Regions from separate parts of the Homo sapiens genome. Here all the other regions are linked to region 2. Evidence: promoter capture Hi-C in human tissues and cell types (Jung and others, 2019). All regions are on one chromosome and are shown on one strand. Each heading gives the region's core, a stretch centred on a gene start or on the middle of the fragment in contact. The rest is flanking DNA. Distances are from core to core; before and after follow the strand shown.

Region 1 (2,828 bases), core at 182-2,681, 410 kb after region 2:
AACCTGTACTCAGGATATACCTTGAAACTAGAGGCTTAGACCTGCATGTATTGCCATCTGTATGGAGGGGCGAGAAGGTGAAGAGAGTAAATAATATGCAAGTGAGAGAAGGGAAAGTTCAACGGCTTTGATCCTTTGTTTCAAGATGTTTCAAGATCCTTTGAAACATACACGTTGAGGGTAGCAGAGGAAAAGGATACACAGAGGAATGCCAAGACAGTACAGTGTGGAACCTTCTTCCTGTCTTTAACTTTTCATCTTTTCTAGTATAATCTGAGTTTTCCCAGGCCACAGCATACTGGAAGCACAACAGTAAGCCATGATATACAATGTTGGCTTCTCTCTCTGGCAACCATCTTCTAAATCATTGGTACTTGTACTTTTCCTTCAGGCCTCTGTTTCCAGTCATCCTCTGCTGTGTAGCAAACTACCCCAAAACACTGGGGCTTAAAACAACCATGTTATTTTGTTTACCCTTTTGAGGGTTAGGAATTTGGGAAGGGCTTGGCTGGGTGCTTCCCCTCTGCTCCATGTAGTCAGCTGAGGCAGCTGGAGCTAGATGATCACTTCCAATGTGGTCTCTTTACTTGCGTTTCTGGTCCTGCAATGCTCCTTGGCATTTCGCTCTCTCCACATGAAGTCTCATCCTCCAGGGCCTCTTCATGCAGCCTGGGCTTCTTAGAGCATGGCAGCCTCAGATTAGTCAGACTTCTTAGCAATGCAGGACACTAAGAACAAGCATTTCAAAATATGGAGCTGGAAGCTTCTAGCTGCATAAGGCCTGGGCCAAGTGACTGGCCCAGCATCACTTCTCCCATATTCTATTGGTCAAGGAAATCACAGAGCCCATTGAGATTTAAAGAGAAGGGACATAGGCCCTCCTGGCCTCTCAACTAGTTTTGGAAGTCTGCTCAAAATGCTTATCTGTTCTTAAAAGCAAGATGGCCCGTAATCTTGTGGCTCACCATGTTCTTCCTCCCAGTTCAGATCCTCTGTGCAGAAGGATTCCTGCAATACATGTAGCCATATGAGGTGTCTCTTCACAGACCCTGCTGGGGACCTGCCATCAGAACAACAGTTTAGGGGCACCGCCTCCCATTACTAAGGAAGCTGCAGTTGCTGCCTCCCCTGCTGATGGAGTACTTGACATTGGGCCACTGGCTGAACTGCTGGAGCTCCAAACACTTCAAAGCATGCTGGGTCCTAAGCCAGAGAAGGGATGTGTGTGTGTATGTGGGCATGCGTGGTTTTTTTTTTTTTTTTGGAGTGTGTGTGTGTGCATGCATGGTTTTTTTTGTTTTTTGTTTTGTTTTGTTTTGTTTTGTTTTGGCTTTTTTTTTTTTTTTGGAGTGTGGGTGAGTGTGCATAAATCTGGAATCCCTTCTGTTACTATTACCTCGTTCTTCACGCGTGGCAGCTTGTGCTTCAATCTCATGGAGCCTATATAAGAAAACCACTCTCCTTGGGCTGGCTTTTTTTCTCCATGGTTTCTGTTTGTAATTCATGGCTGCCTTCCCCAGGACACAGACACAGTTTCTACTGGGGGCTGGGCCAGGGGAGCCATCTCAATGAAAGGCAAGGCTGTGACTCAGAGAGGTGGCATTGTTATTGGACCGAGTGAGTGTTCCTAGCTGGCTCCTCCCTTGAGATGAGTTTTGTCCTGGGAAGCTAACAGTTTCTTTCTTTCTCTTTCTTTCTTTCTTTCTTTCTTTCTTTCTTTCTTTCTTTCTTTCTTTCCTTCTTTCCTTCTTTCCTTCTTTCCTTCTTTCCTTCCTTCCTTCCTTCCTTCCTTCCTTCCTTCTTTCTTTCTTTCTTTCTTTCTTTCTTTCTTTCTTTCTTTCTTTTTCTTTCTTTCACAGAGTCTTGCTCTGTCACCCAGGCTAGAGTGCAGTGGCACGATCTCCACTCACTGCAACCTCCACCTTCTGGGTTCAAGCAATTCTCCTGCCTCACCCTCCCAAGTAACTGAGATTACAGGTGCCCACCATTGCACCTGGCTAATTTTTGTATTTTTAGTAGAGACAGGTTTTCACCATCTTGGCCAAGTTGGTCTTGAACTCCTGACCTTGTGATCCACCTGCTTCGGCCTCCTAAAGTGCTCGGATTACAGGCATGAGCCACCTCACCTGCCTGGGAAGCTAAACAATTTCTAATAATGGACTTGATAGGCTGCCTTTTCTGGTCTTCCCGGTGTGCTCTACTGTGTCTGATTCCTACATGAGCACCCACATCAAATCAAGCAAGGACCCCTCTACAACAGTAAAAAGCTATTTCCAGACCCCCTACCACCACCACCCAAATACCTGAGGTGGTCCAGTAAGCATTTCTTACCCAGCACAAACAGTTCAAAGTTCTTCCTGTTTCCCTTCCCTCCAGTGGCAGAGTGATTAAGAGGCAGAGTTCTCTTTGAAAACATTCATCCCCTTTGTAATAGTGTAATATCCTCTCCCTCCCAGTGGACTGGAAACCCCACAAGGACAGGGAAAAAGTTTATGTGATTCACCCTAATATCTCCAGCACTAACTGAGTCCAACTTAGCAGCACTCAGTAAATATTTGTTACACAAATAAAAGAGAATGATTTAATGAGTGAGCAAATAGACAAATGAATGTTCTTACAGTCCTAAATCCTTCCAGAGAAAAACTCAGATCTGGGCCTCTGTGATAATAATTAAATACTATCTCAGAATCAGTGTTTTCATTTTTCATTTGTGTTTGGGAGTCTGCATTAGATATAATTTAGTTAGCATGTTTTGCTTGTTTTATAAAACAACTCTTACTTTTTGAAATTCCAAGACCTAATCTCTTTGCTTTTCGTGCTTTAAGGCA
Region 2 (2,815 bases), core at 100-2,599:
AACACAGGCAACTTGTAGTTTTAAAAGAGTATAAATTAGTAGTTTTGTTTTGGTAACTATCCTAAGGGGCTAGTAAGAATAATCAAACATTTTATTGAGAGAATATACTGTTAAGTTCCTTAATGTTCCTCAATTGTTTAAGTCAGTGGTTCACAACCTTTAAAGTTCATGACAATCAACAGAGAACTCGTTTCTGGGCCCTATCCCCAGAGATTCTGATTCCGTTTAGGTCGGGGTGGGACCCACGAATTTGACTTCCTAACACATTCACAAATTATGCTGATGCTGTGGGTACTAAAACCACTTTTAAGAACCACTGACCTGGGTATAGAAGAAACTATTTGTAACCAGGCTTTTTCTTCTTTTGGTCCTTAGGTAAATAAAACTCAAGTTGATGAGGTATGATTTTACCTTAAATCAAAACCATTTTTGGTAAAGTACTACCTTAGCTCTATTGTAAGGTAAGTGTAAATTAGATTTGCTTTGACTTAGTTGCTACAGACCACAATTATAGGACAACTAACTGAGGAATTTATTCACTTGTCCCTTCTTTTGAACCTCACTGTGCTCTGGCTTGCCAGGAGGTGCAAGTGTCGTCCCCGCTTTGTACTTGGCGCTCCAGGCCTGGGTCACTTCACTTGAGTTATCAGAGGCAACCGTCTAGTTTGACAAACTACCGGAGGCTCCTGATAGAGAAGGGCGTGGGCGCCAATCTAGGAGACAAAGCCTGAGCCGCTGCGGTGAGCCAACCCAAACCCATCCGCGGGTCTTCTTTCCAGAGACATTTTCGGAGCCGAGGGCGCCTCTGCGAGAGCGCTGCGAACAGGTTCCGACGCGCCGGAGATCGCGCGACGAATCTGCGCCTCGAACCCTCGCTTTCCAGCAGTCGCCGGATTGCTGCTCCACAGGGAGCCAACGCGCTTGAGGACCAGCCCAGCCGGGGCTCTCTGGATCAGTAGGCTGTGCAGGCTGCGAGCTCGTTGACGCATCTCAGCCCACTCCCTTGTCCTCCCGCCTGGCGAAGATGTCCGCCAAGCCTGAAGTCAGCTTAGTGCGCGAGGCTTCTCGGCAGATCGTGGCCGGTGGTTCTGCAGGTAAGGACAGCCCGCCCTGCCCCGCCGGAGGCTAGTCGCTTTCCCCACCGCGTGTCCTGAAACCGTTGCCCAGACAGGTCTCCTTACTGAAGTTCTGCCCTCTTCCTCAAAATTCAGCGCTCCCGGAGCAGTGCTTGAGCCCCTAGAGGCGCGAGAGCAGAGGAGGCCGGGAGTTGATTGCGAGTAGTGGGTGCCCCAAGTAAAGTTGCCTCGGCGTCCGCGCCGGCCGCTCTCGGGTTCCCGGCATTGTCCGTTCCTAGCCTGTAAAGCAAGTGGCAGAGCCCCAAGGGCAGCGACTTTGAGGCGGTCTTTTTGCCTTGCTACCTATTTTACTTGAAAATGATCCAGTTCGGTCTGACTTAGTTTTATCAATTGTAGAGTCTTTCTTCAAGCTCGCTCAGGTCTTACATAAATCCTGCATTCCTCATCAAAGTACTTACAGGACTCCACAGGACTTCTTATTGCATACTGTGCTTGCTTGGGGATATTCGTGCCTTAAATAAGGATATTAAAATTAAATGCATATGTAACACACATAAACACCTTTGATATAATGGGCTCACGTTAATTTATAGAGTTATGCTGTGGGGAAAAAATAAACCTTTAGAAAAAAATGTTGTAATTAATCTTAGAAATACTTTTAAATGTAGCTGGAGAAAGTTACTAACCACGACATGTGTTATGTGCAAGTATTTTAAAGCTATTTTAAAATATAAATTATGATTTGGTTTAAAATTTTATCTTACAGTCATGCATTTTTATTATAAATATATAATTAAAATAATTGCCATAATTGGCTCATAACCAGAAAACATTTTATAAATCTAGCCATTCTTTCAATAAATTATAGTAACTCTAATAAATCCTGTTAAGGCAATGACTAGAAAATGTTTAATGTTTAACTTCGACTAGTAAAAGTTTCTGTATTTTCAAACAAATTTGGACTTTTTGTAAGGGATTACTGCAAATTATGACTGGTTATCATTATGTCATGATCTACTTGCATCTCAGGAGTAACGTAAGCAGCCACGTGTCACTTACAATCTGTACACTTTCTTAAAGATGGTATTTCATCAATATCACATTAGAGCCATTCATTGCTTACAGGAAATTGTAAAATCTTTCCCCTCCCCTCCCCACCCCTCCCCTCCCCTCCCCTCCCCTCCCCCCTTTTTCTTTTCGATGGAGTCTCTCTCTGTTGCCCAGACTGGAAGGCACCGGAGCTGGATTGCCATGGCGCGATCTCGGCTCGCTGCTCCAACTCCCGGGTTCAAGCAATCCTCCCATCTCAGCCTCCTGAGTAGCTGGAATTACCGATGCGCATCACCATGCCGGCTATTTTTTTTTTTAATTTTTTTTGTAGAGACGGGCTTTCGCCATGTTGCCCAGGCTGGTCTCAACCTCCCGGGCTCAAGTGATCCTCTCACTGCAGCTTCCAGAGTAGCTGGGACTACAGGAGCCCACCACCATGCCCGGCTAGTTTTTTGGGGAGGTGGGGGAAGGGGATTTTTTTTTTTGTAGAGTCAGGGTTTCACCATGTTGTCCAGGCTGGTCTCCAACGCCTGGGTTCAAGCAATCTGACCCCCTTGACCTCCCAAAGTGGTGGGACTACAGGCGTGAGCCACCACCCGTTATTATAATTGCAGTGGCCCCACTGCTTGCTCTTTCAGTTTTCCAATTGTGATGATGAATTTGCACCAATTTATTTACCATTTTTGGTC
Region 3 (2,872 bases), core at 158-2,657, 470 kb after region 2:
CACTCCCCAAGTGGATGGAAATGAGGTGCAAGTAGCTTTAGGTTCTCAGTGGGTCTATTCTATTCATTCATTCCAAAAGTATTCATGGTGCATCTACTGTATGTTGGGCACCCTCTTAGGAAGCATCAGCATTGCTCCTCTCTTAATGACGTTTACAGTCTAATAGAGGAAATAGACAATAAACAAATCATTGCACAAGGAACTGAATCATTCCAATTGTGCTAAGTGCCATGCAAGATAACTATCAAGCTGTGAGAATTTATAAACAAGTATTCTAATCTAGACCCATGATGGGGCAGGGAGATGGTGTAGGGAAGTCCGTTTTCTTTTTTTTTCTTTTTCTTTCTTTCTTTTTTTTTTTTTTTTTTTTTGTGGAGACAGGATCTCCCTGTGTTGCCCAGACTGATCTCCAACTCCTGGGCTCAAGTGATCCTCCTGCCTCGGCCTACCAAAGTGCTGGGATTACAGGGATGAGCCACCGAACCTGGCTAGAAAGGTCTTTTTTGGAAACAATGTTTGGGCTTGGGCTGAAGGATGAGGACAAACCACGCCAACCTGAAGAGGTTGAATGAACCAGGCAGAAAGAACAGGAATGTGACTATCCTGAAGCAGAAAGAAACTCAGGGACCCCAGAGAAGATTAAGAATGAGTGTTGCTGGTGCATGGAGAACCAGTAGAGAAGGAGAAATGGAGGCTGCAGAGGTTAGCTTGACCAGAATGTTTTAGGCACATAATATAAAGGCAACTTACTCCCCTTAAATTATTTAACTGGGGGTTATATGGAACAGACATATTACATAAGTGGAACTAAATGGACATGGGAAAGTTTCATGTATGGAAGTTCACAGGTATAATCTCATTGAACTAGCTTGGTTCAAAGACTTCTTCTTGATTATCTCTCTACCTCCATGTTGAAGCATCTCAGTGTGCTCCCTCTGGTTTCTCAATCTCTAGAGTTTTGTTTTGGGAACCTGGCTTGCTAGTTTTCCTTGGGGTCAGTGCCTTTATTGAGTCAAGGAACAGAGAGAACACACTACAACAGAAATATCCTGCTGGGTTCCCAAGGAAATATATAAATACTTTCCTGTATTCTATATAATACTCAATACATAATTAATTCCTAGGTGGTATTATCTAACCACCTGAATATATAGGTATATACAATACATATTATATCTGTGAAATATATACAGGAGATGATATAATCAAGAGATAACTATTATGCCTAAACCATAATCCATTTTGACATTATATATATGTATATTTTATAATTTGAGCTAAGTGGGTAAAACCTTTAAAATTATTCTACATTTTACAATACTTTAAAGAACAGACAACTTAGAGGAAAAAAAGGAATTTTCATGGCTATTTTCTGAATGGCTACATTTAGATGCAGAGGTTTTAACAAGACTTTGATTTCATTCCAAAGCCCAGAGCCCTGCAAGGATAGGATCTTAGGAATACTCCACATTCCTTAAAGAATGCTTATCAGTTGAAGCATCTCATTTTAGTTAGTGACCTTCTGTGGAGTGGGGAGCTAGCATTTCCCTAAATTATCTCGCATGAAGAGAAAACAAACACTGTAATAGATTCCTCTGATAGCAGTGAAGTAAAAACAAATGTATTTTTTAATTAAGCTTCAATAGCAGATATTTTCACTGGGGACAAAATAGCAGGATACCATGACATTGGGAGGAAAATGTTTTTGTCAAAGTTTATGAACAAAACAACAAAAGAGAGCCAAGATTAGAAGGAATGAAAGTTGTATAGTGAGAGCTGACTCTACTTGTAAGCTGACTTGGACCTATTAGAACTAACAATAGCTAAAATGCAAATTTCCTCTTAAAAAAAAGGCAGTTCACTCTCACTTAAGCTGCCTCCTTGTTCAGTTACCAGGAGGCAACTATGATTCCAATGCACCACATCATTTTCATGACCACCATACCCAGCTGTGGGCAAGACAATGATGAGCTGCTATTATTTGCCTTGCGGTTGCTACCAGGTGCTTAACCAGTGTGTGTATCTGCCTCCTTTGTAATTTGCTTCTGAAACCTTGGTTCTTTGTTTATTATGTTTTATTAAAGGAAGCTAAGGCATTTATTACATACCTATGATGTGTCAGGCTCAGTAAATACACAAGAGGAGGGTGACATGGCATATCCCTTTTCTTTAGATATTTTGAACAAGTCTTCAAAAAGAGTGTGAGAGCCTGTTGCCTGTCTCCACTAACTCCTTTCAAAGGCCTGACCCTAGGCAATCTGACCCCAGGGCCCATGCTCTTAATCATTGTACTCTACATACTTCTTCAAATATGTGGACACATGACCCTTTGGGTCTTTCTTTCTTCAGAGTATACCCACAGCTGCCCATTCACTCTTCTGGTGACATGGCTTCCAGTCCTCTGAGCAGCCCATCTGTCCTACTATAGTGCATCACATTTGTCCATATCAATGTCAGATCTAAACAGAATACTGCAGTTTTTCATTGATCAAATGCAGAGTACACTAGGATCAAGCATTCCTGTGACATGAACACACACCTTTCTTAAATGCAGCCAAAGACTGTGCACAAATAGATTGTGGGGGATTTGTTGGAAGAAGGGGATGGAAAGGAAGGGAGGAAGAATGTGTTTTATTTTTACATCAAGAAGTTGGCATGGTCTGGGCACAGTGACTCATGCCTGTAATCCTCGCACTTTGGGAGGCTGTGGTAGGAGGATAGCTTGAGGTGGTATTGTATTAAATTTTGGTGGAACTTGGTGGGGTGTTCCAAGATGGCCGAATAGGAACAGCTCCAGTCTGCACTCCCATTGTGATCAACTCAGAAGACGGGTGATTTCTGCATTTCCAACTGAGGCACCTGGTTCATCTCA

The links. Contacts are between HindIII fragments. The study calls those that stand out against the background at their distance.
Region 1: a contact is called between a fragment that was not itself captured here and the fragment with the promoter of SLC25A21-AS1 in region 2, in 1 of the 25 tissues and cell types used here (dorsolateral prefrontal cortex).
Region 3: a fragment that was not itself captured here is called in contact with the fragment with the promoter of SLC25A21-AS1 in region 2 in 1 of the 25 tissues and cell types used here (heart right ventricle).

What each region holds. Positions count from the first base shown.
Region 1 is chr14:36,763,053-36,765,880 of GRCh38, reverse strand. All of the region lies in intron 3 of SLC25A21 (solute carrier family 25 member 21), which reads left to right. Among named protein-coding and RNA genes, the nearest start is that of PAX9, 100 kb to the right of the region's middle. The HindIII fragment of the contact is 3,313 bases long and covers 1-2,828 here.
Region 2 is chr14:37,170,560-37,173,374 of GRCh38, reverse strand. It overlaps SLC25A21-AS1 (SLC25A21 antisense RNA 1), which reads right to left and starts at 1,349. Exons shown (of 1, transcript NR_033240.1): 1 at 1-1,349. It overlaps SLC25A21 (solute carrier family 25 member 21), which reads left to right and starts at 769. Exons shown (of 10, transcript NM_030631.4): 1 at 769-1,094. The coding sequence starts at 1,025. RefSeq lists enhancers at 496-1,074, 1,075-1,654. The HindIII fragment of the contact is 15,552 bases long and covers 1-2,815 here.
Region 3 is chr14:36,699,975-36,702,846 of GRCh38, reverse strand. All of the region lies in intron 7 of SLC25A21 (solute carrier family 25 member 21), which reads left to right. Among named protein-coding and RNA genes, the nearest start is that of PAX9, 40 kb to the right of the region's middle. The HindIII fragment of the contact is 5,988 bases long and covers 1-2,872 here.